7 separate regions of the Homo sapiens genome follow, and all the other regions are linked to region 1. Evidence: promoter capture Hi-C in 16 types of primary human blood cells and fetal thymus (Javierre and others, 2016). All regions are on one chromosome and are shown on one strand. Each heading gives the region's core, a stretch centred on a gene start or on the middle of the fragment in contact. The rest is flanking DNA. Distances are from core to core; before and after follow the strand shown.

Region 1 (3,873 bases), core at 710-3,209:
TGTTCCTAGTTGAGATCCTTAGGCTGAAAGGCTGGTATTTGCAAAGCACTTCTTCTCCTCCAAACTCAGCCTCCGAACTAGCTGGGACTACAGGTGTGTGCCACCACACCAGGCTAATTTTAAATTTTTTTGGAGAGACGGAGTCTCACAACGTTACTCAGACTCATCTCCAACTCCTGGGTTCAAGTGATTCTCCAGCCTTGGCCTCCCAAAGTGTAGGGATGACAGGCAGGAGCCACCATGCCAGCCAATAAAGCCCTTCTGTTTCACTCTAATGATATCTTTGGTGCATAGCTACAGCCATTGTTGTATTAACCTGCATCACTGAAGGAAAAGAGAAGGGGAGAAGTGATAGTTTTGCTTTTCCCTGAACATATCAGATGAAACCTGAACTGTTTAGCTCATTTTTGGACAATGTATTGACATAATTTAAGATGGCTGCCTTATTGTAGCCTGTCTACAGAAGGTGCCTAGAAGACAGAGGAATATGTAAAACTGGCTTGAAGAGTGATTAATCAGAACTTTACGTGGTACAGAAGAGAAATTTTAATGGCAACAGAATATTGATCTTCTAATGTTTGAAAGCCTATTAAATAGGAGAGAAAGATGATTTTCTGTTTTGTTGTAAAAGGATCCAACCAGTTCTGATGGTTGAAAGCATCGTGAATGCGAAGGTCCACTCAATGTAAGCAGAGTTTCCTAACAATTGGACTTCCACAGCGACGGGATCTGCCTCCTCATTCAGTTGTGCCTTTCCCATCAGCGAGAGACTCCTAGGAGCCCATTAGGAAGCTGTGCCAGAACTCACAGGTTCTTTGGATGGTATCTGAGATAGTATCCAGCTCTTACATTTTTATTTTTTCCGAAAAAAATATTTTTGAGACTGAGTCTCACTCTGTCCTCCAGGCTGGTGTGCAGTGGTGCAATCATAGCTCACTGCAGCCTCAAACACTTGGGCTGAAGCAATCCTCCTGCCTCAGCCTCCCAAGTACTGGGACCACAGGTGTGTGCCACGATTCCTGATTACTTTGTTTATATTTTGTAGAGATGACGTTTTGCTATGTTGCCCAGACTAATCTTGAACTCCTAACCTCAAGTGACGCCCTGCCTTGGCCTCCCAAAGGAGGGAGATTATGAGCAGGAGCCCCTGGGCCTGGCTGAGATTTTCCCCTTAGTCTTTTTATACACAGGATATTTTATTCATAAAATACATAAATAGTAGGCAAATTTTGGGGTCAAGTGAAATAGATATGTTGTAATAGTTGATATATAGACCAGAGTTCCTTAGCTGAACTGGAGGGCAGGCTTTAGGTGATCCATGGATGCCCTGAACTTGTGGACACCATTGAAAATCTGTACGAAACCATGGACAGTCTCCTGTGATTTTCATTCCTCAAAATGTCTCTTGGACTCAAAGATGCCTGAGAGCAAAGGATGCATGTTCCCCTACTATAGGATCCAGGATAGTGAATATCAGTAAACATTCAGCAAAAAAGCTTTGCCACATTGAGTACTTCGACGTAACGTCTCCATTCAACAAGTCAATTTACCCAGGATCTCCTGTATATGTTAATCTCACTCTTGGAAGGACTCATCATTCTGCTTACCCTAAATTTCCTTCCACCTTCCTCCCTCTCTCACCAGACTAGACTCTGAAATGGGAAGGAGAAGCGGGGAGGAGAGCCCAACACCCCCTCAAGTTTAGAGTGGAGAGGACACAGCCTCTGCTGGGACAGGGAAAAGAGGAATGTGGAGACCCTGAGGATGCTTTTGGACAATGCTCAGAGGTTGGGACATTGCCAGGAGATACCGTTCACCCCGGATCTCCAAGAAAAGAGATCAGTCTGGCAGTTACATGTGTTTTTCTTCAAAGTAGTTGCCAGTTTGGAATGACCGATGACATCAGAGATTCCGACTTTCCTGATTGGAAGGACCGGACTCTGGTTGCTTGGGAGTTCAGGTGGACAACAGCAACTTCTCAGAACTACTCTTCACTCCTAACTTCTCCCGAGCCTCTAGAAGAGAAACGCACTCTTCTGGGTCCTAACGGAGTCTGGAAGAAGGCTTTGGACAGAACAGGGACTAGGTTTTGTGGACAGAAACAAAGTGTTTGGGAGAGATTATGGCCAGTGGTCAAGCGCGCCCCCCGTTTGAGGAGGAGAGCCCCCAGCCTAGCACAACGGTACGGTCCCCCGAGGTGGTGGTGGATGATGAAGTGCCAGGACCATCAGGTGAGGTGACTGGAGGGAGAAGCGATGGGAGATGATTGACTGAGGAGAGGGAAGGGGGCCAGTTACTGGGAATCTGAAGCACCTGAGTAGGGTGTGTGGGAAAGAAACGACGGACTCAGGAAGCCAGGGATCGGGGAAGGAGGGTGCAGGGAATGGGGCCAAGCATGGCCACGTGTAAAGAAAGTCTGGGGAGCAATGAAGGGGGTCAGGAGATGTGCTCAAAAGATGAGAGAGGAAGGCCGAGGCGGACGGATCACGAGGTCAGAAGATCGAGACCATCCTGGTTAACACGATGAAACCCTGTCTCTACCAAAAATACAAAAGTGAGTTGGGCATGGTGGTGCGTGCCTGTAGTCCCAGCTACTCAAGAGGCTGAGGCAGGAGAATCATTTGAACCCAGGAGGCGGAGGTTGCAGTGAACCAAGATTGTGCCACTGCACTCCGGTCTGGGCAACAAGAGGGAGACTCCATCTCAAAAAAAAAAAAAAGAGAGAGAGAGAGAGAGAGCAGACAGAGCTCAAGGGAAGGTTTCCATTTTTCTCCAATTGAAAGTTCTTATCTGTGATGAGGAAATGTTTTGAGGACAGAGAGCCGGAAGAATGGGGAGGTGAGGGAGAGGCAGATGGGGATCAGCAAAGGAGAAAGGTGGAAACATGGCTTGGAGAAGCTGACAGTCTGCGAGGCTTGGGAGGATGGAAGAGTAGTTTGAGGTTCCTGGGTCGGGGCGTCTAAGGTGATCAATGGCAGAAACATGACACCATGGCCTGGTTTCTTCACTCAGCCCCTTGGATAGATCCCAGCCCCCAGCCTCAATCCCTTGGCCTGAAAAGGAAGAGCGAATGGTCAGACGAATCCGAGGAGGAGCTGGAGGAGGAGCTGGAGTTGGAGCGCGCCCCTGAGCCCGAGGACACCTGGGTGGTGGAGACGCTGTGTGGGCTCAAGATGAAGCTGAAGCGAAAGCGAGCATCCTCCGTGCTCCCTGAGCACCACGAGGCCTTCAACAGGCTCCTTGGTAGGAGGATACCCCAAAAAGCACCTCCAACCCTGTTCTTTTAAAAAAGTGGAATCTTTCAATAATCACACTTTCCCAATAAGAAGAATATGCCCTCCTGGGGGATGAGCGCTCCATGCAGGAGGAGGATGCTTAGGAGATAGAGGATTAGGCTAGTCTTAATAAAGGTCTGCACTTGAAATAAGAAAGCTTGGTTTCTGGCCAGGTGCAGTGGCTCATGCCTGAGATCTTGGTGCTTTGGGAGGCTGAGGCGGGAGGATCTCTTGAACTCAGGAGTTTGAAGTTGCAATGAGCTATGATTGCACCACTGCACTCCAGCCTGGTTGACAAGGAAAGACCCTGTCATAAAATAAATAAAATAAAATAAAATAAAAGATAAAAGAAAGCTTGGTTTCAGCTGTACCCTCTGAAACTCTATGTCTCTTGATGACTTTTCTAAACCTAAGTGTCTCCATCCGTGGAGGGGGATAACAAGGCCATGGGCACACCCAGCTGTGACTATCTCAGGAAGCAATGATGGGAATTCTATTATGACTTCTGCAGTGGTCCCTTCCTGTCTGATGGGAGGACATCATGGCTTATTCACAGCTCTTCATCCTGTAGACTCTGACACCAGAGGCCTCCTTCGGC
Region 2 (3,873 bases), core at 235-2,734, 450 kb after region 1:
GGGTGTGCAGGGGGAGAGTGGAGCATACGGTGTGTGGTGTGTGGCCCTTTAGGAAGTTCTCGGTGTGAGTGTCTGAGATAGCGGTGCCAGGGTGGGTGTGCCATGTGTGTTCTGCGCTGTCTGGGTCTGGGTGCCGTGGGCGCGCCTGTCCGCCGGGCCTGGGCTGCGAGGCGTGCATCACTGTTTCCCTGCTCCACTGGCCCTCCGCCCCCCATTTCCCAGTTCCTCTCTCCGGACTCTCCCTTTCCGGATTATTTTTAGTCTCCTTTTCCTGCCATCAAGATTCTTGGAGCCTCTGACCCCCGGAGATGAGGAGGTCCTGGCGAGGTCTCTCCTGTCCTGCGTCTGATCATCCCCGCCTGCCCTAGGGTCTGGTCACAGAGAGAGGCCCAGCACAGCCATGGGTCTTGCCAAGAGGCCTGGGGAGGTGGCTGGGAGAATGAACCGAAGGACAGGACCAGTCGGGCCAGGGCGCTGCGGCCTGGGTTTCTCTTCCTCCCTCGAGGAAGGAGGCTACAATCCCAAGAAGGCTGCAGGGTCAGGGCTGGGAAGCAGAGGAACCCCCAAACTCCCTTCAGGGGTCAGCAGGAGAGTCAGACCCCTCCAGGCCTCGGACTGGCTCCTTGAGAAATGATGAGGGGGGAACAAGGGGGTTGTAGATGATGGGTCTTGCAGCTCAGTGGCCTCTGTGTTCTGGCAGAAAGTCATTTAGCAAAGTGACCCACACGGTAGTCTTGACCACTGGCCAACTCCTCCCCAGCCCCTGCCCCTCAGGGATCCCACCCCCTCTCGGGTACCTGCATTTACTTCCTTCCCTACCCCACCCTTAGGAACCCAGGTACTCGGGCCCCAAGCACTCACCCTTGAATCCCCTCCACTCTCAGTCACCTCCCAGGGCTGAGTGAGTAGGGGCAGGAAACAGGAATCAGATCCGCCTCCCAACCGGACACCCCCCCCTCACGAACCACACCACTCTCCACATGCGCACATCACACAGGGCCCCAGGAGACAGAGGTATCCAGGGTCTCAGAGGTTAAAGGGGTCTGGGGAAAAGCTGAAATTCAGGCTTGGAAAGTGTGTGCGCAGGTTCTACCTGCACAGCTGTGTGGATCGGGGCTCATAGGGGTGAGGTGGACAGGGGTAGGGATGAGGACAAGACGGCAATGGCACAGAGCCTGGCTGAGCAGCATGGGTGTCTGGATGCCTCTGTCTCAGCTAAGGGATGCTGCGTGCGTCCCTCCACGGCGAGTCTCACCATCTTTCCCCGACTTGCACCACCACCTGTCTCCTGAGCCGGGTGTGAGCCAACGCCTATTTCACACCCAGGGACCCTCCCGCAGGCTTCCCTCCCTAACTCTGCAGTAGGTCCCCATGAATTTACCTTTATCTTTTTGGAACCAGTTGCTATTTTCAGCCTGTCCTGTCTGCCCCTTGGAGCGAGGAATGCAGGGCTGAGGTTTCCAAGTGTGTGTTCCTGTGATTCTGGGGTGGGAACTCAGGGCCCAGATTGAGATCTCTGCGGAGGAAGCCAGTTCCTCAGCCCCACCCAGCCATTGTGTCTGGCGTGTGTGTGTGTGTGTGTGTGTGTGTGTGTGTGTGTGTGTGTGTTAGAGGAGAGAGAAAAGGGGAGGGCCAGGAGGTAGGACTGAAGAGAGAAGTGTGGACTTGGGGTCTGTCTCCTCCAGGGAGGTATAACATTTGCAGGGGCCCAGGCGTGGTTGCTCATCCTTATAATCCCAGCACTCCAGCACTTTGGGAGGGCAAGGTGGGAGGACCAGCCTCGGCAACATAGTGTGACCCTGTCTCTACAAAAGATTTTTAAAAAATTAGCCGTGGACAGGCCGGGCGAGGTGGCTCACATCTGTAATCCCAGCACTTAGGGGGGCCGAGGCAGGCGGATCACCTGAGGTCAGGAGTTCGAGACCAGCCTGACTAACATAGTGAAACCCCGTTTCTATTAAAAATACAAAAAATTAGCCAAGCATGGTGGCACACGCCTGTAATCCCAGCTAGTCGGGAGGCTGAGGCAGGAGAATTGCTTGAACCCAGGAGGCAGAGGTTGCAGTGAGCCGAGATCGCGCCATTGCACTTCAGCTTGGCCAACAAGAGCGAAATTCCATCTCAAAAGAAAAAAAAAAGCCATAATGGCACACATCTGTGGTCCCAGCTACTCAGGAGGCTGAGGTGGGAAGATTACTTGAGCCCAGGAGTTGGACACTACAGTGAGCCGTGATCGCACCACTGCCCTCCAGCCTGGGCAACAGAGCAATATGCTGTCTGAAAACAATAAAAAATGTGCAGAGGTCGGGCGCAGTGGCTCATGCCTGTAATCCCAGCACTTTGGGAGGCCGAGGCAGGAGGATCACCTGAGGTCAGGAGTTTGAGACCAGCCTGGCCAACATGGTGAAACCCTGTCTCTACTAAAAATACAAAAAAATTAGCCGGGTGTGGTGGCGCACGCCTGTACTACCACCTACTCGGGAGGGTGAAGCAGGAGAATCACTTGAACCCAGGAGGTGGAGGTTGCAATGAGCCAAGATCCTGCCACTGCACTCCAGCCTAGGCAACAGAGCAAGACTCCATCTCAAAAAAAATAAAAATAAAAAATGTCCCAGGAGCCGTGGCTCACGCCTATAATCCTAGCAGATTGGGAGGCCAAGGAGGGTGGATCATCTGAGGCCAGAAGTTTGAGACCAGCCTGGCCAACATGGTGAAACCCCATCTCTACTAAAAAAAAAAAATACAAAAATTAGCTGGGCATGGTGGCGGGCACCTGTAATCCCAGCTGCTCTGGAGGCTGAGGAGAGAGAATCACTTGAACCCAGGAGGTGGCAGTTGCAGTGAGCTGAGATCGTGCCATTGCACTCCAGCCTGGGCAACAAGAGTGAAACTCCATCTCAAAAAAAAAAAAAAAATTAGCCGGGCATGGTGGCACTCGCCTGTAATCCCAGCTACTCAGGAGTCTGAGGCACAAGAATCACTTGAGCCCAGGAGGCGGAGGTTGCAGTGAGCTGAGATCGTGCCATTGCACTCCAGCCTGGGCAACAAGAGTGAAACTCCATCTCAAAAAAAAAAAAAAAATTAGCCAGGCATGGTGGCACTCCCCTGTAATCCCAGAAGAGACTTAATTTTCCAAACAATAAGCCCCAATAAAAACAGCATGAAGCCAATTAAATTTTTTCCAAAAAAAAATTTTTTTTTTGAGACGGAGTCTTGCTCTGTTGCCTAGGCTGGAGTGCAGTGGTGCGATCTCTGCTCACTGCAACCTCCGCCTCCTAGGTTCAAGTGATTCTTCTACCTCAGTCTCCCGAATAGCTGGGATTACAGGCATCTGCCACCATGCCCGGCTAATTTTTTGTATTTTTTAGTAGAGGCAGGGTTTCCCCATGTTGGCCAGGCTGGTCTCGAACTCCTGACCTCGTGATATGCCCGACTCGGCCTCCCAAAGTGCTGGGATTACAGGCGTGAGCCACCACACCTGGCCCCAAAAATTTTATAAATAGTCTATAACATTTTAATCTTGACCATAAGATGTAACTTCCATAACCTTTGTATAACCTTTATAACCTTTATTAAGGAGTCAGTTAATGCTCCAAGAAAACCTTGTGAATCTGACACAGGGGCCCATATGCTGGTCTTGCATCAGTGTGTCTTTGACATTAATGGTTAATTTATAGAGAAACTGAATTTATTTTATTTCTCAAAATCAACCCTTACCATCTCACATGCCCACCTCTTCTGCAATAGTCCCTGGGCCTTGAGGAGTTTAACAGCTTTAATTTGTGGCCGTGTGTCTCGGCAATACAGTTATTTTGATTGGCATCTTCTACTGGGCCTGAAGATGAGGCTTTAATTGATGTTAGTTTTTAAGAT
Region 3 (3,873 bases), core at 717-3,216, 430 kb after region 1:
AGTCTTTTTTTTTTTTTTTTTTTTTTTTGAGACAGCGTTTCACTCTTGTTGCCCAGGCTGGAGTGCAGTGGTGCCATGTTGCCTCACTGCAAACTCCGCCTCCCGGGTTCAAGCGATTCTCCTGCCTCAGCCTCCCAAGGAGCTGGGATTGCAGGCATGTGCCACCACACCAAACTAATTTTTGTATTTTTAGTAGAGACGGGATTTCACCATACTGGTCAGGCTGGTCTCGAACTCCTGACCTCAAGTGATCCACCCGCCTCGGCCTCCCAAAGTGCTGGGATTACAGGCGTGAGCCACCGCGCCCGGCCTGGTCTCGTCTTAAATAAAATGGCAAGCCATGATGAGGACCAAATTGAAGCAACTTTGGCGAAGTTACCTATTGTAACAAGCAGGCCGACTTGAGGTGGACCTGCCCACCTCAGATTTGCATCCTACCATTTGGGAATTCATTGCGTGATCCACAGAGTCTGAACAGGAAGGCACACAGGAGAGGAAGAGCTGCCAGTGAGATAAATGGCCTCTCTGGAATAGCTAAGAGTACAATTGTATTGTGGATTATCTGAATCAGTTAGGACTCTGTAGCTAATAAAAGAAAGGAGATTCAAACTGGTTTAAGGGATAAAGGGAATTTAATGACCTATAGAACTGAAAAATCCAGGCTGGTCTCAGTGGCTCGTGCCTGTAATCCCAGCACTTTGTAAGGCCCAGGCGGGCAGATCGCCTGAGGTCAGGAGTTTGAGACCAGCCTGGCCAACATGGTGAAACTTCATTTCTACTAAAAATACAAAAATTAGTGGGGCATGATCGCAGGCGCCTGCAATCCCAGCTACTCAGGAGGCTGAGACAACAGAATCACTTGAACCCAGGAGGCAGAGGTTGCAGTGAGCCAAGATCATGCCATTGCACTCCAGCCTGGGTGACAGAGTGTGACTCCATCTAAAAAAAAAAAAAAAAAAAAAAAATTAGCTGGGCATGGTGGCGCATGCCTGTAGTCCCAGCTACTAGAGAGGCTGAAGTATGAGAATAGCTTGAACCTAGGAGGCAGAGGGTTGCAGTGGGCCGAGATCGTGCCACTTCCTTCCAGCCTGGGCAACAGTGCGAGATCCTGCCTCAAACAAACAAACAAACAAAAATAACTGAAAAATCAAGATAAAAGCTTCAGATGAGACTTGATCCTGGAACTCAAGTGATGATAACAAGGACCTGGCTTTCCCCTTGTCTCTCCATTTCCAGTTTTGTGGTGTTGGCTCCTTCATCAGGCTGTATCCAGTGGCCTCCCCAGCAACTCCAAGCTGCCTCTCACTGCACTAAAATGGCAGCCACTGATCCAAACCTTATATCCTCACACTGCAATGTCCAGGGGAAGAGAGAATGGCTCATTCAAGTGGCTCTTGGGTGGGTCTCGAATTAACTGTCTCTGAACTCATTGATCCAAATTGGGACACATACCCATCTCGACCCAATCACAATAACCAAGGGTTGTCGTAAATCAAGGAAGAGTAGCTGGGCGCAGTGCCTCCCCTGTAATCCCAGCACTTTGGGAGGTCGATGGGGGTAGATCATGAGGTCAAGGGTTCAAAACCAGCCTGGCCATATGGTGAAGCCCCGTCTCTACTAAAAATATAAAAAATTAGCCGAGTGTGGTGGCGCACGCCTGTAGTCCCAGCTACTCGGGAGGCTGAGGCAGGAGAATCGCTTGAACCCAGGAGGCGAAGGTTGCGGTGAGCCGAGGTCACGCCACTGCACTCTAGACTGGGTGACAGTGTGAGACTCCGTCTAAAACAAAAACAACAACAACAACTCAGGGTCACTTTCAAATCCAATTTTTAGTCAATATTTTGTATTCTTTATTGTTAAGGTTCCCCAAAAGTCTGGATTCAATCCCAACGCTTTCTCACAGAGGGCAGCTTCAGGTTTCTAACAGTGGACGGAGTGAGAGAGGCTTCGGGTCAGCGGTGGTTGTGAGGCAGTTTGGGCGCAGCCCACGGCTTCATGCCCCGCGGCGGGGGCACGTGCAGGCACCAGCTTGAAAAACTCCATCGGGCGTGGAGCTGACCCATTCGGGTCCGAAGCCAAACCTAGTCGGATCAAGCAGCTGAACGCAGGCCCCGGGACCTGGTGACTGCCGTTGCGACCTCGAGAGTGCTGCGGGTGGGTGGGAAGGAGGAGTGGCTAGCTCTGGGGACGTCGGGCAGTGTTCTGAACAGCGGGAGCCAGTGCCTCAACTTCCCCAGGATTCTTCCGCGGGAGCAGCCCACTCCCATACTCCGCCCCGCGTGGGAGGCGAGCGCTGAGAACCAGGAGACACAGCCAGGCCAGGAGACCCCAGAGTCCAGCCAGAAGACGTGCTGAGACCCCGCTGCAGGAAGCCCTATGGCCGCGCTGCGCTCACTCACTGAGTCCGGGTCTCCGGCAGAGAGACAGGGGCAGCCCCGCGGGAGGGGCGGGCGCGGGGCCAGAGCGGGGCCTGGCCACGTCCGGGAGGATGAACGGAGCCCCGCTAAGGTCGGGAGGACTTCGAGGAGCTCCAGCGCTCTGTTCCCCTTGGTGTCGCCCGAGGCTGATGGAGGGTGGTGAGACCGTGGCTTGGAGACGACGTGCTGGGGAGCAAGGTCGGGAGCCCGCCAGGCTCGCGGTGGAGCTGTCGCTGGAGAGGCACTGCTGCACCGGGACGGTGGGCTGGTGGGCTGGCCACCCTGGAGAACCTGAGCCTGCAGTTACCTCTGTAGCTGAACCTGCGAGTATGGAGGGTTTAGGAAAGAGAAGCTTTCCGAGATGGCTGGAGAGCCAGCCAGGCTGAAGGGCTCCGGAAAGGATCACAGGAAGTGGGCTGGAGGGTTCCTTGCGGGTGGAAGGAGGAGGAGAGAGCTAGTGAGCAGGCTTGGGGGCCGGGGCGTGGGGGGAAGAGGGCGAGGCTCCTCTCTTTCCTCTGTTGCTTGTGGGCATGATTGCAACCCCCACCCCCGTTTATCTGCGATGTTGGCCACTAAGATCTTGACCCGGAGCCCACAGAAGGCCAGCTCAAAGAGAGGCCCGTGCCCTTTACTATCTGCCTTATCTTGTAGGAAAAGAAAAACTTTTTATCTGAGGGGGGCAAGGCTTTTAAAATTATCAGGCCCATAGAGAGGATCGCTTGAGCCCAGGAGTTCCAGACCAGCCTGGGCAACATGGCAAAACGCCGTCTCTACAAAAAATACAGAAATTAGTCGGGTGTGTTGGCTCCTGCCTGTGGTCCCAGCTACTCAGGAAGCTGAGGCAGGAGGATCGCTTGAGCCCAGGAGCTCGAGGCTGCAGTGAGCCAAGATCGTGCCACTGCACTCCCGCCTGGGTGACAAAGCCAAATCTTGTGACAAAAAAAAAAAAAAAAATCAGGGCCAGAGAGGAATTAAAATGAGACAACAGTGACATCCCATTACCCCCTTTGAGCTAGGTATTCACCTCTTTAACTGCTTGCATTGGCTTGCTCTTGCCATAAGTAGCTATGAATTAACCTGGTAATGCCACACTGGACACTATAACCCACCCCCTATAGCTTAACAGTATATAGCCAATCACTAATCAAAGAGCTTCCTTTAAACCAATGAGAATTCCTAACAACTTTGTATCAGCCCACAGCCCACTCCCTGTCCCCCTTTTTTGCCTTTGAAAACCTGCTTGTAACAAAGCCCTAATGGAGCTCATATCCAAGGTTACTTGGGTCTGAGTCTTCCTGGCAGCCGTCCTCCCTTTGTCTTTCGTTTGTTTTTTGTTTTTTGAGACAGAGTCTCGCTCTTGTCACCCAGGCTGGAGTGCAATCACGCGATCTTGGCTCACTGCAACCACTGTCTCCTGGGTTCAAAGGATCCTCCTGCCTCAGCCTCCCGAGTGGCT
Region 4 (3,873 bases), core at 803-3,302, 410 kb after region 1:
GATGGGGTTTCTCCATGTTGGTCAGGCTGGTCTCGAACTCCCGACCTCAGGTGATCCGCCCACCTTGGCCTCCCAAAGTGCTGGGATTACAGGCATGAGCCACCACGCCCGGCCTCATGACCAGCTAATTTTTGTATTTTTATTAGAGACAGGGTATTGCCATGTTAGGCAGGCTGGTCTCGAACTCCTGACCTCAAGTGATCCACCCGCCTCGGCCTCCCAAAATGCTGGGATTACAGCCATGGGCCACCGCACCTGGCCCAAAAAACGTTTTGTAAATAAAAATTAGCCGGGCATGGTGGCACATCCCTGTAGTCCTAGCTACTCAGGAGGCTGAGGCAGGAGGATTGCTTAAGCCAAGGAGTTTGAGGCTGCAATGAGCCATGATCATGCCACTGCACTCCAGCCTGGGTGACAGGGCAAGAGTCTCTCTCTAAAAAAAAATTATAGTAATAAAATTTAAAGATCAGAATTTATAAAAACATCTGGATTGGCGGCATCTTTTGAAAAAATCAGAAGCTCTAGCAAATATTCTATTTAAGGTTTTTGGTTGTATACAACAGAAATCAACCCTGGTTAACTTAAGCAGAAAAGGAAGGATATGAAATAACTTACAGAAAGCTGAAGAACAGGCTTAGAGGAGTAAGAACCAAGGGAGGCTAAGCAGCCAGAGCTACAACCCTAGTCATGCCACATGAGTTTTCTGGGAGAAAAACCCTGTGCTGTCCCCCCTAGACAATGGCCCTGTCACCTCTGCTGCAGGATGCAGGATCCTGCATGGACTACAGTGATTCCAATATTCCCTTAATTCTTTGCACTTAATGAAAAGGATACAAAGTCGCAGGTGAACAATCTTTTTTTTTTTGAGATGGAGTTTTGCTCTTGTTGCCCAGGCTGGAGTGCAACGGCACAATCTTGGCTCACTGCAACCTCCCCCTCCCAGATTCAAGTGATTCTCCTGCCTCAGCCTCCCGAGTAGCTGGGATTACAGGCATGCATGACCACGCCCGGCTAATTTTGTATTTTTAGTAGAGACAGGGTTTCTCCATGTTGGTCAGGCTGGTCTCGAACTTCCAACCTCAAGTGATCCGCCCACCTCGGCCTCCCAAAGTGTTGGGATTACAGGCATGAGCCACCGTGCCCTGCCGCAGGTGAATAATCTTAGTCATACGTTGGCACTCTGACTGCCTGAGAGCGGTCCCAGGTGTGTCTTCCCCTCCTGCACCTTCTATAATTGGAAGCGACTCCACTTCCCACTTATGTTGACATTCTCCCCAAATAGGAAAACCATATGAATGCTGAGCAGCTCCATATGACAAATGTTCCTCACAGCAATAACCCATGGAGCTGAGTTGCACCTTCCCCTGTTACATAAGGCAGTTTTCCGGGATATCCCAATCCCACTTGTCTCCCAAAATTAAAATGAAATTCCAGTTGCCATTTCTAATTATGCCCTCCTATTGTAAGATATTTTTTATACCAAAATGTAATGGTAATAAAATATGTCCACAGGCCAGGCGTGGTGGCTCATGCTTGTAATCTCAGCACTTTGGGAGGCCAAGGCGGGTGGATCACTTGAGGTCGGGAGTTCAAGACCAACCTGGCCAACATTGTGAAACCCTGTCTCTACTAAAAATACAAAAATTAGCCAAGCATGGCAGTGGGCACTTGCAGTCCCAGCTACTTGGGAGGCTGAAGCAGAAAAATTGCTGGAACCCATGAGGTCGAGGTTGCAGTGAGCCAAGATCACACCATCGCACTCCAGCCTGGGCGACAAGAGAGAAACTCCGTCTCAACAGAAAAAAAAAAAAAGAAGAAGAAGGAAATCCTGTCATTTACAACAAGATGGATGAACCTGGATGGCATTATGTTAAGTGAAATAAACCAGGCACAGAAAGACAAATACTGCATGATCTCACTTACATGTAGAATCTAATTTAGTCAAACACATAGAAGCAAAGAGTATTATGGTGTTTGCCAGGGGCTGGGGGAGGATGTGACTGAGGAGATATTGGTCAAAGACTATAAGATTGCCGGGTGTGGTGGCTCATGCCTGTAATCCCAACACTTTGGGAGGCTGAGGTGGGTGGATCACCTGAGGTCAGAGGTTCAAGACCAGCCTGACCAAGATGGTGAAACCCCGTCTCTACTAAAAATACAAAAAATCAGCCGGGCATGGAGGCACACACCTGTAATCCCAGCTACTCGGGAGGCTGAGGCAGGAGAATCGCTTGAACCCAGGAGGCAGAGATTGCAGTGACCTAAGATCTCACCATTGCACTCCAGCCTGGGCAATGAAAGTGAAACTCGGTCTCAAAAAAAAAAAAAAAATGCCGGACGCGGTGGCTCACACCTGTAATCCCAGCACTTTGGGAGGCCGAGGCAGGTGGATCATGAGGTCAGGAGATCGAGACTATCCTGGTGAACACGGTGAAACCCCGTCTCTACTAAAAACACAAAAAAATTAGCCAGGCGTGGTGGTGGGCACCTGTAGTCCCAGCTACTCGGGAGGCTGAGGCAGGAGAATGGCGTGAGGTTGCAGTGAGCCGAGATCGCGCCACTGCACTCCAGCCTGGGAGACAGCGAGACTCCATCTCAAAAAAAAAAAAAAAAAAAAAAAAACTATAAGATTTTAATTAGGAGGAATGAGTTCAAGAGACCTATTGTACAACATGGTGACTATAGTCAATAACAATGTATTGCATTTTGAAAAACGTTGAGATAGTAGGTTTTAAGTGTTCTCACCACAAAAAATAGTATGTGAGGGAATGCATACATTAATTAGTTCAACTCAGCCATTCCACAATGTAAACCTATTTCAAAACATCATGTTGTATATGATAAAATAATTTTTAAAAGTTTTTTAAAATTTTTTAAATAATTTTGACAAATTATTCAGCTAAGCTGCTTTTACATTCCTGGCCTTCAGATATGATGTGAGATAATAAATATTTATTATTTTAAGCCACTAAATGTGGGGTAATTTGTTATCCAGCAATAAATAGCTAATACACCAGATCTTTATCAAAAGGGAAAAATTATATACAGACTGTGAGAGTGGCCCCCTTTATTTATGTTACCCACCTAGCCCCTGTATGCATTTGAGTTTGTGACCCCTACAAAATCACTAAGTCAGTTTCTCTAATTACATTATACATACGTGTGTTTGTACCTAAGGCAGAGACCATGACATTCCTTTATTTGGTGTCCCTTCCTCCAGGATGACTAGTTCAGTAAGTCCCCTAGTAAATCCTTGTTCGCTACTGGGGAGAGGATTAAAGTGGGATACAGAGTAGAGATTTGTGGAATATCTGTTGTGCCTAATTTTCAAGCCCTTGTATTATGTTCCTTGCTCAGAATCTTTCCTTTGTTAGGAATCTTTCCTGGGTTAGGAATGCTACAATTGCTGATCAGGTGTGGTAAGAACAAGAATCTCAGACAGGGCTCATATTAAATAGAAGTCAGCTGGGCGTGGTGGCTCACACCTGTAATCCCAGCACTTTGGAGGCTGAGGCGGGCCGATCACCTGAGGCGGGCAGATCAGGATTCAAGACTAGCCAGACCAACATGGAGAAACCCCGTCTCTGCTAAAAATACAAAATTAGCCGGCATGGTGGTGCATGCCTGTAATCCCAGCTACTAGGGAGGCTGAGGCAGGAGAATCGCTTGAACCTGGGAGGCAGAGGTTGCGGTGAGCCAAGATGGTACCATTGCACTCTAGCCTGGGCAACAAGAGCATAACTCCGTCTCAATAAATAAATAAATAAATAAATAAATAAAGTCGATCATATACATTAGGTTGAACCATATAAAATTGCCACATTTAACTACTAACACAACATATATGGTTCAATCTGCAGTGGCGCGATCACG
Region 5 (3,873 bases), core at 423-2,922, 380 kb after region 1:
TCACAGCCAGTTATTGCCAGGCAGCAATGCCGCCAGTGCAGCCAGAATGTTGCCTTTTCAAGAAAGCCAGAAATCGAGGCTGGGTGCAGTGGCTCACGCCTGTAATCCCAGCACTTTGGGAGGCAGAGGCGGGTGGATCACGAGGTCAGGAGATCGAGACCATCCTGGCTAACACGGTGAAACCCCATCTCTAGTAAAAATACAAAAAATTAGCTGGGCCTGGTGGCAGGTGCCTGTAGTCCCGGCCACTCGGGAGGCTGAGGCAGGAGAATGGCGTGAACCCGGGAGGCGGAGCTGGCAGTGAGCCGGGATCGCGCCACTGCACTCCAGCCTGGATGACAGAGCAAAACTCTGTCTCAAAAAAGAAAGAAATCGAGATTTATGTGAAATCTCCCAATCTGTAAATATAGGTGAAACATTGAATTTTTTTTTTTTTTTTTTTTTTTTTTTGTGACAGAGTCTGGCTCTGTCGCCCAGGCTGGAGTGCGGAGGCACGATCTCGGCTCACTGCAAGCTCCACCTCCCGGGTTCATGTCATCCTCCTGCCTCAGCCTCCTGGGACTACAGGCGCTCGCCACCATGCCCAGCTAATTTTTTGTATTTTTGGTAGAGACGGGGTTTCCTCGTGTTAGCCAGGATGGTCTCGATCTCCTGACCTTGTAATCCGCCCACCTCCGCCTCCTAAAGTGCTGGGGTTACAGGTGTGAGCCCCCACGCCCGGCCGAATCATTCAATTTTTTTTTTTTTTTTTTTTTTTTTAGTATTTATTGATCATTCTTGGGTGTTTCTCAGAGAGGGGGATTTGGCACGGTCATAGGACAATAGTGGAGGGAAGGTCAGCAGATAAACATGTGAACAAGGGTCTCTGGTTTTCCTAGGCAGAGGACCCTGCGGCCTTCCGCAGTGTTTGTGTCCCTGGGTACTTGAGATTAGGGAGTGGTGATGACTCTTAGCGAGCATGCTGCCTTCAAGCATCTGTTTAACAAAGCACATCTTGCACTGCCCTTAATCCATTTAACCCTGAGTGGACACAGCACATGTTTCAGAGAGCACGGGGTTGGGGGTAAGGTTATAGATTAATAGCATCCCAAGGCAGAAGAATTTTTCTTAGTATAGAACAAAATGGAGTCTCCTATGTCTACTTCTTTCTACACAGACACAGTAACAATCTGATTTCTCTTTCTTTTCCCCACATTTCCCCCTTTTCTATTCGACACAACCGCCATCGTCACCATGGCCCGTCCTCAATGAGCTGTTGGGTACACCTCCCAGACGGGGTGGCGGCCCGGCAGAGGGGCCCCTCACTTCCCAGACGGGGCGGCCGGCCGGGCGGGGGCTGCCCCCCACCTCCCTCCCGGACGGGGCGGCTGGCCAGGCAGGGGCTGCCCCCCACCTCCTGGATGGGGCGGCTGCAGGGTGGAGATGCTCCTCACTTCCCAGACGGGGCGGCTGCCGGGCGGAGGGGCTCCTCACTTCTCAGACGGGGCGGCTGGGCAGAGACGCTCCTCACCTCCCAGACGGGGTGGCGGTCGGGCAGAGACACTCCTCAGTTCCCAGACGGGGTCACGGCCGGGCAGAGGCGATCCTCACATCCCAGACGGGGCGGCGGGGCAGAGGCGCTCCCCACATCTCAGACGATGGGCGGCTGGGCAGAGACCCTCCTCACTTCCCAGACGGGATGGCGGCCGGGAAGAGGCTCCTCACTTCCCAGACTGGGCGGCCGGGCACAGGGGCTCCTCACATCCCAGACGATGGGCGGCCAGGCAGAGACGCTCCTCACTTCCCAGACGGGGTGGCAGCCGGGCAGAGGCTACAATCTCGGCACTTTGGGAGGCCAAGGCAGGCAGCTGGGAGGTGGAGGTTGTAGGGAGCCGAGATCACGCCACTGCACTCCAGCCTGGGCAACATTGAGCACTGAGTGAGCGAGACTCCATCTGCAATCCCGGCACCTCGGGAGGCCGAGGCAGGCAGACCACTCGCGGTCAGGAGCTGGAGACCAGCCCGGCCAACACGGCGAAACCCCATCTCCACCAAAAAATACAAAAACCAGTCAGGCATGGCGGCGCCTGTGGGCAATCCCAGGCACTCGGCAGGCTGAGGCAGGAGAATCAGGCAGGGAGGTTGCAGTGAGCCGAGATGGCGGCAGTACAGTCCAGCCTCGGCTTGGCATCAGAGGGAGACCGTGGAGAGAGAGGGAGAGGGAGACCGTGGAGACGGAGACGGAGACGGAGACGGAGAGAGGGAGAGAGGGAGAGGGAGACCGTGGAGACGGAGATGGAGAGAGGAAGAGGGAGACAAATTTTTTTAAAATCACTAGATGGACCAACCAAAATAGGTCTATTAGATAATTGTAGACCCTGGACTCTACTGTAGAATTTCATGGTATAGTAAGGACTGTACCTCTACTAAAGACTGAGATTCTACATCTTTTGATTATAAATTGTTTCTAGCCTGTTGCCTTCATTCTTTTTTTTCTTTTTTTTATTTTTAGAGACAGGGTCTCACTATGTTGACTAGGTTGGTCTTGAACTCCTGGCCTCAAGCAATCCTCTCACCTTGGCCTACCAAAGTGTTAGGATTACAGGCATGAGCCACCATGCCCAGTTGCCTTCATTATTTTATAGAATGAAGATGAGGCTTTTCCTTCCTTTGCGGTCCCCTGAAGGGACTCAAATAACAACCAACACAGCACTCAGGTTCTGAGAGACGCTGGTTTCAGAAAGGAATCTGGAAGGTGCTTTTTCTGGATTCCATTGAATACCTTGTGGTTTCAAGTCTGTTAGAACTAGTAGGACCGGCTGGGTGTGCTGGCTCACACCTGTAATTCCAACACTTTGGGAGGCCAAAACGAGCAGATCACTTGAGGCTAGAAGTTCGAGGACCAGCCTGGCCAGCATGGCAAAACCTCACTTTGGGAGGCTGAGGCAGGTGGATCACTAGAGCCCAGGAGTTCGAGACCGGCCTGGGTTTTTTGCAACATGGCAAAACCCCATCTCTATAAAAAAATACAAAAAAAGAAAAAGAATGAAAATGCATATTTTTCACATTTTAAATTTTGGATGTGTCTTATCAATACATTCATTTAATACACACTGTTTTTCCTCTCAAAAGAAAGTTGTTATTAAGTTAGTGATTTACAATCAGTAATGTCTTAGAATCAGGAATATTCATGATTAACTAGCAATGCTGAGGAAGGGAGTTTGAAGCCCTTTTAGTGAAGGACCTTCCGGACCTGGAAGCAGGCCCCACTTAACTGAGACTCTTGCTCAGAGCCTTTAAAAGTTTCCATCTTTCTCTGCTTCTCAGGATTCTGCCCTGCCCCTCCGCTCTGCATCTGACAGCTGGGATCTCGGGATCCTGTTTTCCTAAGCTTGCTGGAATTCCTGCAGTCCTCATGTGAACTCCCCTGGCCTCATCACCATCCTGTCTTACGGCTGTTCTGACTAAGGAATCCCAGTTTAGACAACTGAGTATCAAGTTCTCTCCCTAAGGAATTATCTGATCACAGTGGCAGGTAGACTCCATTTGGGGTATCTCTTTTCTGCAGGATAATCTCCTGACATATCTTTATGTACACAGATATAATATTTCCATTGGAAACAGATCCTGCCACCCCTGTTAGGAGTCATCAAGCCTGCGCCCAAGTTCACTTGGACTCTGCTTTATTCTGGAAAGATTAATAAATGGGCTACAGCTCTGGCAGCGTCAAAACTGGCCAGACCAACAGACCTCCCAGGAAAGCAAAACTCCTTTCCCTCATCCATGAAGCTGTACTCATCTTGTTAGATGTGAGACCTATTTCTTATTTCTTCCATTTATTCACCTGACTCGCTTTCAGAGTCCTTTATGCTGCATGCCTTCATTCCTGGTGCC
Region 6 (3,873 bases), core at 660-3,159, 360 kb after region 1:
AGGACTGTCCAGAGAGGCCATCATTGGAAGGGGGAAGGATTGTCCGGAGAGGCCATCGTTGTAAGAGGGAAGGATTGCCCAGAGAGGCCATTGTTGGAAGGGAGAAGGATTGCCCAGAGAGGCCATCATTGGGGCCTCGGATGTCTTCTGCACTCCCTGGGTCCTTTTTACTTTTCCTCTAACTCGGATGAAAAGTAGAGGCTCTCCTTCTCCTTCCCTGCTCGTCTCAAGGAGGACGGTGCTTTCTAACTTGGCTAATACCTACTCACCCAATCTATCAGCTGATTCTAACAATGTTCTACCATCTACGGAATCTTCTCTGTCTCGGTTAACTCCCTCTCCGTCACCTTCACCGGTCACCTCAGGTGACTCACTTCCCTCTCTCTAGACATGGATCTGCTCATCTCTGAAACTAGGAGCTTCAACTAAGTGATCTCTAAAGTCCTTTTTCCCTCTAGTATTCCTTATTTGCTCTTCTTGTCAGCCTTGGTCTCTACTTCTCAGTTATCCAAACAACTTAAACCATTGATCATCAATACTCCTTTCAAAAAAATATCTTTTTCAAGAAAACTTATAAATGTCCACTAGGCTCTAAAGTTTTATAAGAACTTCCTTGGCCACTACTTATCCCCAATATGTAAGTCAGTACCTAGCACATAGCAGGTGCTCAATAAATATGTGTCGAATAATTAGACAGATGGATGGATGGATAGAAGGATGGAACTCTTGCCATCATACACTCTGGGGAGTTATGAAATGCAGGGAAACATATTAATAGTTGATTGGCTTAAGAAAATCATGCCCATCCTGATTATAATGGCTGTTTGGTATAAACATTTGCAAATGTGTTATGAAATAACTACCAAGAAAGATTGGAATAACCATTTAAATTATTATCCATTGCCCATCACTTATCTTATCCATTGTCATCTTGTTCCGTTATTCTAATTTGAGGTGAGCTGCCCTCTGTCAAGTGGGTGCGATTTTTTAATCATCCACATACTAAGGAACATTTGGGGATGAGAGGGAAGGAAAGGAAGGCAAATGCTGTGGCTGCCTCAAGAGCTGTGACAGGGGTCTCCAAGTCCCCTTTGGGAGAAGAGGGGACAGGACATGGTCTGTCTTAATAATGACAACTGCCATTTACTGAGCACTTACTCTGAGCCAGACTCTTCACTCACATTAGCTCACTTAATTCCCCCAACAACTCTCCGAGGAAGATGATACCATTATTATCAATTTCATCTTATGGACAGGAAACTGAGACTCAGAGAGGTTAAACAACTTGGCTAAGCTTATACAGACAGTAATGGGTAGATCAAAGATTTGAACCCCCATCCCCCATCCTGGGGGCCACATTGACCATCTCAAAGACCAAAGCTAGAAACTCCCAAAGAGGTTTGGGGGCCTCCTCCAGGATCCCAGATTCCTTATCCCACCTCCAAATATTTTTGCTCTTTGACTATGGGACATTTTCAACTCGGCAAAATAGATTTGGAGCCAAGCCAAGAGAGGGAGGGATTCTGAAAGATTTGTGATCTTAACAGTTGTCCTTCCTACACATTGATTTTGTTCCCACTATGTCATCTCTCAGGTCTGGGGGCTGCCATGCAACTCTATTTTATCAGTGTGTCCAGGGGTCTTTTGTCTCTGTCATGGATGGAAGAAAGCAGCAATAACAAGGAATCATGGTTCTTTTTAAAGAAGCTGTTCCAGATAAGTTTAGGCTACACAGTTGTGACACTGGGAACTTTTCAGTGCGGACACTTGGACCTCACCACACACCCCAGTGGATGTTTCCCTTCAAAGCCATCGACTTGGGAAGCCATGTAGTTAATCAAACAAATCTGCTCTCAGATTCTGTTTAAAACCCATCTTGTGGCCAGCGCCTTGGCTTGCGTCTGTAATCCCAGCACTTTGGGAGGCCAGCCGAGGCGGGCGGATCACCGGAGGTCAGGAGTTCAAGACCAGCCTGGCCAACATGGTGAAACTCTGTCTCTACTAAAATTACAAAAATTAGCCATGGGTGGTGGCATGCACCTGTAATGCCAGCTATTTGGGAGGCTGAGACAGGAGAATCTCTTGAACCCAGGAGGTGGAAGTTGCAGTGAGCTGAGGTTGCGCCACTGCACTCCTGACTGGGCGACAGAGCAAAACTCCCTCTCAAAAAAAAAAAAAAAAACAAACCATCTTGTTACTTTATATATCTTGTTACTTTATATCTTGCTACTCCATAGCTTTGATTTCAAACAATATCATGCCACTTGATCACTCATTTACTTTCCTATCAGACTTGGCTACCAGTGACTTCTGGGCATTTCCAAAGTATCAGACATATTCTCAAAGGATGAAATTCTGTCTCCATCACGGTTAATCAGATGCTTCTCTCACTGCCTCAGGCAGCCCCATAAGAAGAATTTGGAGAATGACTGAGCTGTGGCAGGTGAGGGAATGAACCTAAAGCTCCCTGACGTGACTATGTGGAGGGCCAGCAGGCATTTGAATGTGTAAGTTCTAAGCTTTGTTTTTTTAAACAGTCATTGCTTTATAGCCACACTTAGCACAGAGGAATGCAATCCAATGGCTGGAGGAAATCCAATGGACCCGCCAACCCCAGGTGAGGGCAGAGGTTGAGACTAGCACGGGCTTTTCTGGAAAATGGCCACTCTGGGTGCAGGTCCAAATTGGAGACTGGACTGGGGCTGTGCATGCATCTTCTTAGCCACCTGCTTCCCCTGGTAACAGGGACTTCCTTTCTTCACTTCCGTCACTGAAGCAGGAAGAGGTGAGGCAGTGACCTCACCATGTGTGTACATGATGATTGAGGTGAGACATCAGGAACTCCACACACCTCCTCCTGGGGTCCAGTGTGACTGGGTTCTCTGGTTCTCTGTCTCCCGATTCTCCCTTCCAGAAGCATCTGCTCCTCTCCTCCTAAGGGTCTGGGTTCTAGGTTTGAGTCAGGTGGGCCATAGAGGAGGAGCAGCAGAAGAGCCAAGAGTAGGAGGAAGAGAGAGGAGGCAGAAGACAGGGAGAGGGGATAAGGGGCAGTGGAGGCAGAGGTGTAGGTGGGAGTTAGGACGGGGGAGGGAAAGAGGAAATGCCCCAATATTCACAACCCTTCCCGTCCACAGCTGAGCGTGCCATCTCCCAGTGGCCATGTCAGAAGGGGAGAGCAAGGACAGCTCGGGCAGTGAGTGCCCCGTGTGCTATGAGAAGTTCCGGGACCTGGAGGGCGCCAGCCGGACGCTGAGCTGTGGCCATGTGTTCTGCCATGACTGCCTGGTCAAGTACCTGCTGTCCACCCGCGTGGATGGGCAGGTCCAGAGGACCCTGGTCTGCCCCATCTGCCGCTACGTCACATTCCTCAGCAAGAAGAGCTCCCGCTGGCCCTCCATGCTGGACAAGAGCTCCCAGACGCTGGCTGTGCCCGTGGGCCTGCCCTCCGTGCCCCCACTGGACAGCCTGGGCCACACAAACCCCCTGGCCGCCTCCTCCCCTGCCTGGAGGCCACCTCCAGGCCAGGCCAGGCCGCCAGGCAGCCCGGGCCAGAGCGCCCAGCTCCCCCTGGACCTGCTGCCCAGCCTGCCCCGGGAGTCACAGATCTTTGTCATCAGCCGCCACGGGATGCCCCTGGGGGAGCAGGACAGCGTGCTGCCCCGCCGCAGCCTGGCAGAGCTCTCGGAGGCCTCCCTGGCGCCCCGCTCCGCCCGCGCCTTCTGCTGCCGATCGCGGGCCCTGCTGCTCATCACGCTCATCGCTGTGGTGGCCGTGGTGGCCGCCATCCTGCCCTGGGTGCTGCTGGTGAGGAAGCAGGCGTGAGCCGCACCTCAGGGAGGCCGCCGGGCTAGCCGTGGCCTGGGGTGGGACAGG
Region 7 (3,873 bases), core at 788-3,287, 330 kb after region 1:
GGCGCGATCTCGGCTCACTGCAACCTCCGCCTCCCAGGTTTAAGCAATTCTCCTGCCTCAGCCTCCCTAGTAGCTGGGATTACAGGCGCCTGCCACCACGCCCGACTAATTTTTGTATTTTTAGTAGAGACGGGGTTTCACCATGTTGGCCAGGCTGGTCTCGAACTCCTGACCTCGTGATCCGCCCGCCTCGGCCTCCCAAAGTGCTGGGATTACAGGCGTGAGACACAGCGCCCGGCCCCATCTTGCATTATTAATGTTTATATATTTTTAGTACGTAAACACACACGTGTATGTGTGTGTGCGCGCGTGTGTATTCCCTAGCGGACTTGGAAGCAAGCTGGAGACGATACTAGCCCAAAAAGGAGGGAAAGAGGGATAGGCAACTTACATAGGGAGTGGAAACTTAAAGGAAGAGATACATTTTAAAAACAATTTTAAGAACTTTTGCTGTATAATGTACAAGGTAATCCTTTCCTTTAGGAGATGGGGTCTACTGTGTTGCCCAGGCTGGTCAAGAACTCCTGACTTCGGCCAGGCGCTGCAGCACTTTGGGAAGCCGAGGCGGGCAAATCACCTGAGGCCAGGACTTCGAGACCAGCCTGGCCAACATGGTGAAACCCTGTCTCTACTAAAAGTACAAAAATTAGCCAGGCATGATGGTGGGCACCTGTAATCCTAGCTACTCCGGAGGCTGAGGCAGGAGAATCGCTCGAACCCGGGAGGCGGAGGTTGCAGTGAGCACCACTGCACTCTAACCTGGGCGACAGAGTGAGACTCCGTCTAAAAACAAACAAAACAAAACAAAAAAGAACTCCTGACTTCAGGCAATCTTCCCACCTCAGCCCCCCACAAAGTCCTGGGATTACAGGCACCAGCCTCCATGCGGCACGCAATGTAATCCTTTCCAATTTCAGTGCTTTTAGGATTGGATTTGTGGGTGTGAACACAAAAATAATGTGTAAGACATGCCTCAAGGTGAAAACAAAGTGAGCCTAGGAGGCCCAGTTTATATTTTTGAGGGCGATGGACATAAACAGGAACAATGCAAGATGGATTGTAAGAGGTACCCAAATCAATAAAGATCAGAGAAGGGATTAATGGGGTTTGTGGGAAAGGTAACATATTACATATGCCTATTATGAATAATATTATGAATAATATGCATATTATGAAAAAACTATGCATGGATTTCCAATTTTTTTTTTGCACAGGGCCAAGCATGGTGGCCCATACCTGTAATCCCAGCACTCTGGGAAGCTGAGGTAGACAGATCACTTGAGCCCAGAAGTTCGAGACCAGCCTGGGCAGCACAGTGAGACACCTGTCTCTAAAAAAATAAAATAAATGTTTGCACCAAAATAAATTTGTTCTAACTTGCTATAACATGTCTGAACAGGATCTAGCTTGAAGCACCAAGAAAGATAAGAAATCAGTTTGAAGAGAGTCCCTATCAGAACACATATTCTACAAAATTGAAGCAATACAAAATACTAAATTTATGGTGAAGCCTGGGTGGAAAAATGGTGGAATCATTGACGCTTTATAAAAGTGTAAAAGGACAAAGCCCCAAAAGAAGTCAGCAGTTTACAAATGGATAATTCATTTTAAGAAGAAACATGATGATGTTGAAGATGAAGCCCACAGCAGCAGACCCTCCACATCAATTTGTGAGGAAAAAAAGTAATCTTGTTCATGTGCTAATTGAAAAGGATCAATGATTAACAGCAGAAACAATAGCCAGCACCACAGATATCTCAACAGATTTGGCCTACACAATCCTTACTGAAAAATTAAAGTTGAGCTAACTTTCCACCCAATGGGTGGCAAAACCATTGTGCCCAGGTCAGCTGCTGACAAGAACAGAGCTTTCAAAATTTCACACATTTTAAACAAGTGGGATCAAGATCCTGAAGCTTTTTTTTTTTTTGAAGAATTGTAACCAAGAATGAAACTTCGCTTTACCAGTACAATCCTGAAGACAAAGCGGTGGCTACCAAGAGATGGAAGTAGTCCAGTCAAAGCAAAGTGAACCAGTCAAGAGCAAAAATCATGGCAACCATTTTGTGGGTTGTTCTAGGCATTTTGCTTTCTGGAGGGCTAAAGAATAATAACGTACTTATTACGAGAGTGTTTTGAGAAGATTAGCCAAAGCTTTAGTGGAAAAATGCCCAGGAAACCTTCATCAGAGAGACCTTTCCACCATGATAAAGTTCCTGCTCATTTCTCTCATCAAACAAGGGCAATTTTGCAAGAGTTTCAGTGGAAAATCAGTAGACATCACCTTACAGTCCCAATTTGGCTCCCTCTGAAGACTTTTTGTTTCCTAATCTTAAAAAATCTTTAGGCCAGGCGCAGTGGCTCATGCCTGTAATCCCAGCACTTTGGGAAGCCGAGGCAGGCGGATCACGAGGTCAGGAGATCGAGACCATCCTGGCTAACACGGTGAAAACCCGTCTCTACTAAAAATCCAAAAAATTAGCTGGGTGTAGTGGTGGACGCCTGTAGTCCCAGCTACTTGGGAGGCTGAGGCAGGAGAATGGCATGAACCCGGGAGGCGGAGCTTGCAGTGAGCCGAGATCGCGCCACTACACTCCAGCCTGGGCAACAGAGCGAGACTCTGTCTCAAAAAATATATATATATTGGCCTGCCATTAAATATATATATATTTATATTTATATTTATATATAATATATATATTTATATATAAATATATATATATATCTCTTTAAAGGGTAGCCATTTTTCTTCAGTTAATAATGTAAAAAAGACTGCATTAACATGCTTAAAATCCCCAGATCCTCAATTCTTTAGGGATGTACTAAATAAATGGCTGATATCATGGTTACGAAAGTATCCTGACCTTGGCTGGGCACAGTGGCTCACACCTGTAATCTCAGCACTTTGGGAGACCTGGGGCGGGTAGATCACTTGAGGCCAGGAGTCCAAGACTAGCCTGGCCAACATGGTGAAACCCCGTCTCTACTAAAAATATAGAAAAATTAGCTGAATGTGATGGCATGTGCCTGTAATCCCAGCTACTCAGGTGGGTGAAGCTTGAGAACCGCTTGAACCTGGGAGGTGGAAGTTGCAGTGAGCCAAGATCATGCCACTGGGTGACAGAGCAAGCCTGTTTCAAAAAAAAAAAAAAAGGTGTCTTGACCTTGAGGGAGCTTACGTTGAGAAATAAAGTTTATATCTTTTAATTTTATCTTTTAATTCCATTTTTCTATGAACTTTCCGAAGTTCTCTTGTATGCACTGGCAACTGTGCTAAACACTTGGTCTGCTTAATTTCATCCTCACAGTAATCCCATGAGATAGGTAGTGTTATTCCCATTTTTTAAATGAGGAAACAGACTCAGCAAGATGAAGTTTCCCAAAGTCTCTCAACTAGAAAGATGAGGCCTCAAGCCTCAAACCCACCCTGTTCGAATTGTCTAACTCTCCAGAAAACACACTATTAACAACTATTATATTGCTACTCAAGAAGGGGGAGTATTAGCAATTACTACCATGTATTGGGCTAGAGCACTGTGCTAAGTGCTTTACATGCTTTCCCTCCCTCAGTCCTCACAATGAGCCTGTGAGGCTGTGATTATTGCTTCCATTGTACATATTGTAAACTGAGACCCAGAGGAGCTAGGGCTTAAACTCAAGTAGGTCTTACTTCAAGGCCAGTGGCCTGGGACAATGGACTGGTACAGCTCGTTCAGGCTCTGGGGCTCTGCTTCCCTGGGTGAAGCTGTGCTCTGGCTGATGAGATCACAGACAGGGAGGGGATGAATGAAGGCTTTCCTGTGGACCTGGTGCCAAGACAAAACAGTCCTATCCCAAGAGGAAAAAAATTAATAAGGGCTGCGGCTCTCTCCC

What was found. The method cuts DNA at HindIII sites, captures the fragments that hold promoters and counts their contacts. A CHiCAGO score of 5 or more calls a contact.
Region 2: a contact is called between the fragment with the promoter of ARHGEF15 here and the fragment with the promoter of SPDYE4 in region 1, in 13 of 17 cell types (neutrophils, naive B cells, naive CD8 T cells and 10 more). The highest score is 14.9, in neutrophils.
Region 3: a contact is called between a fragment that was not itself captured here and the fragment with the promoter of SPDYE4 in region 1, in 2 of 17 cell types (monocytes and neutrophils). The highest score is 6.5, in monocytes.
Region 4: a fragment that was not itself captured here is called in contact with the fragment with the promoter of SPDYE4 in region 1 in 1 of 17 cell types (naive CD4 T cells); the score reaches 5.3 in naive CD4 T cells.
Region 5: a fragment that was not itself captured here is called in contact with the fragment with the promoter of SPDYE4 in region 1 in 1 of 17 cell types (naive CD8 T cells); the score reaches 5.5 in naive CD8 T cells.
Region 6: a fragment that was not itself captured here is called in contact with the fragment with the promoter of SPDYE4 in region 1 in 16 of 17 cell types (megakaryocytes, endothelial precursors, activated CD4 T cells and 13 more); the score reaches 14.8 in megakaryocytes.
Region 7: a fragment that was not itself captured here is called in contact with the fragment with the promoter of SPDYE4 in region 1 in 2 of 17 cell types (total CD8 T cells and total CD4 T cells); the score reaches 7.0 in total CD8 T cells.

The regions. Positions count from the first base shown.
Region 1 is chr17:8,756,632-8,760,504 of GRCh38, reverse strand. It overlaps SPDYE4 (speedy/RINGO cell cycle regulator family member E4), which reads left to right and starts at 1,959. Exons shown (of 7, transcript NM_001394956.1): 1 at 1,959-2,231; 2 at 3,013-3,243. The coding sequence starts at 2,123. The HindIII fragment of the contact is 1,936 bases long and covers 1,499-3,434 here.
Region 2 is chr17:8,307,852-8,311,724 of GRCh38, reverse strand. ARHGEF15 (Rho guanine nucleotide exchange factor 15) reads right to left here and starts at 1,484. Exons shown (of 16, transcript NM_173728.4): 1 at 1,382-1,484. RefSeq lists an enhancer at 990-1,490. The HindIII fragment of the contact is 11,022 bases long and covers 1-3,873 here.
Region 3 is chr17:8,325,682-8,329,554 of GRCh38, reverse strand. No RefSeq gene overlaps it. Among named protein-coding and RNA genes, the nearest start is that of ODF4, 12 kb to the left of the region's middle. The HindIII fragment of the contact is 1,610 bases long and covers 1,162-2,771 here.
Region 4 is chr17:8,347,964-8,351,836 of GRCh38, reverse strand. No RefSeq gene overlaps it. Among named protein-coding and RNA genes, the nearest start is that of ODF4, 10 kb to the right of the region's middle. The HindIII fragment of the contact is 9,727 bases long and covers 1-3,873 here.
Region 5 is chr17:8,371,515-8,375,387 of GRCh38, reverse strand. The region is part of intron 1 of KRABD2 (KRAB domain containing 2); the gene reads left to right. Among named protein-coding and RNA genes, the nearest start is that of KRABD2, 3.3 kb to the left of the region's middle. The HindIII fragment of the contact is 3,400 bases long and covers 1-3,372 here.
Region 6 is chr17:8,392,748-8,396,620 of GRCh38, reverse strand. RNF222 (ring finger protein 222) reads left to right here. Exons shown (of 3, transcript NM_001146684.3): 2 at 2,292-2,443; 3 at 3,135-3,873. The coding sequence starts at 3,160. The coding sequence ends at 3,822. Among named protein-coding and RNA genes, the nearest start is that of RNF222, 3.1 kb to the left of the region's middle. The HindIII fragment of the contact is 1,225 bases long and covers 1,297-2,521 here.
Region 7 is chr17:8,431,157-8,435,029 of GRCh38, reverse strand. It overlaps a transcript of NDEL1 not described here. Among named protein-coding and RNA genes, the nearest start is that of NDEL1, 2.8 kb to the left of the region's middle. The HindIII fragment of the contact is 238 bases long and covers 1,919-2,156 here.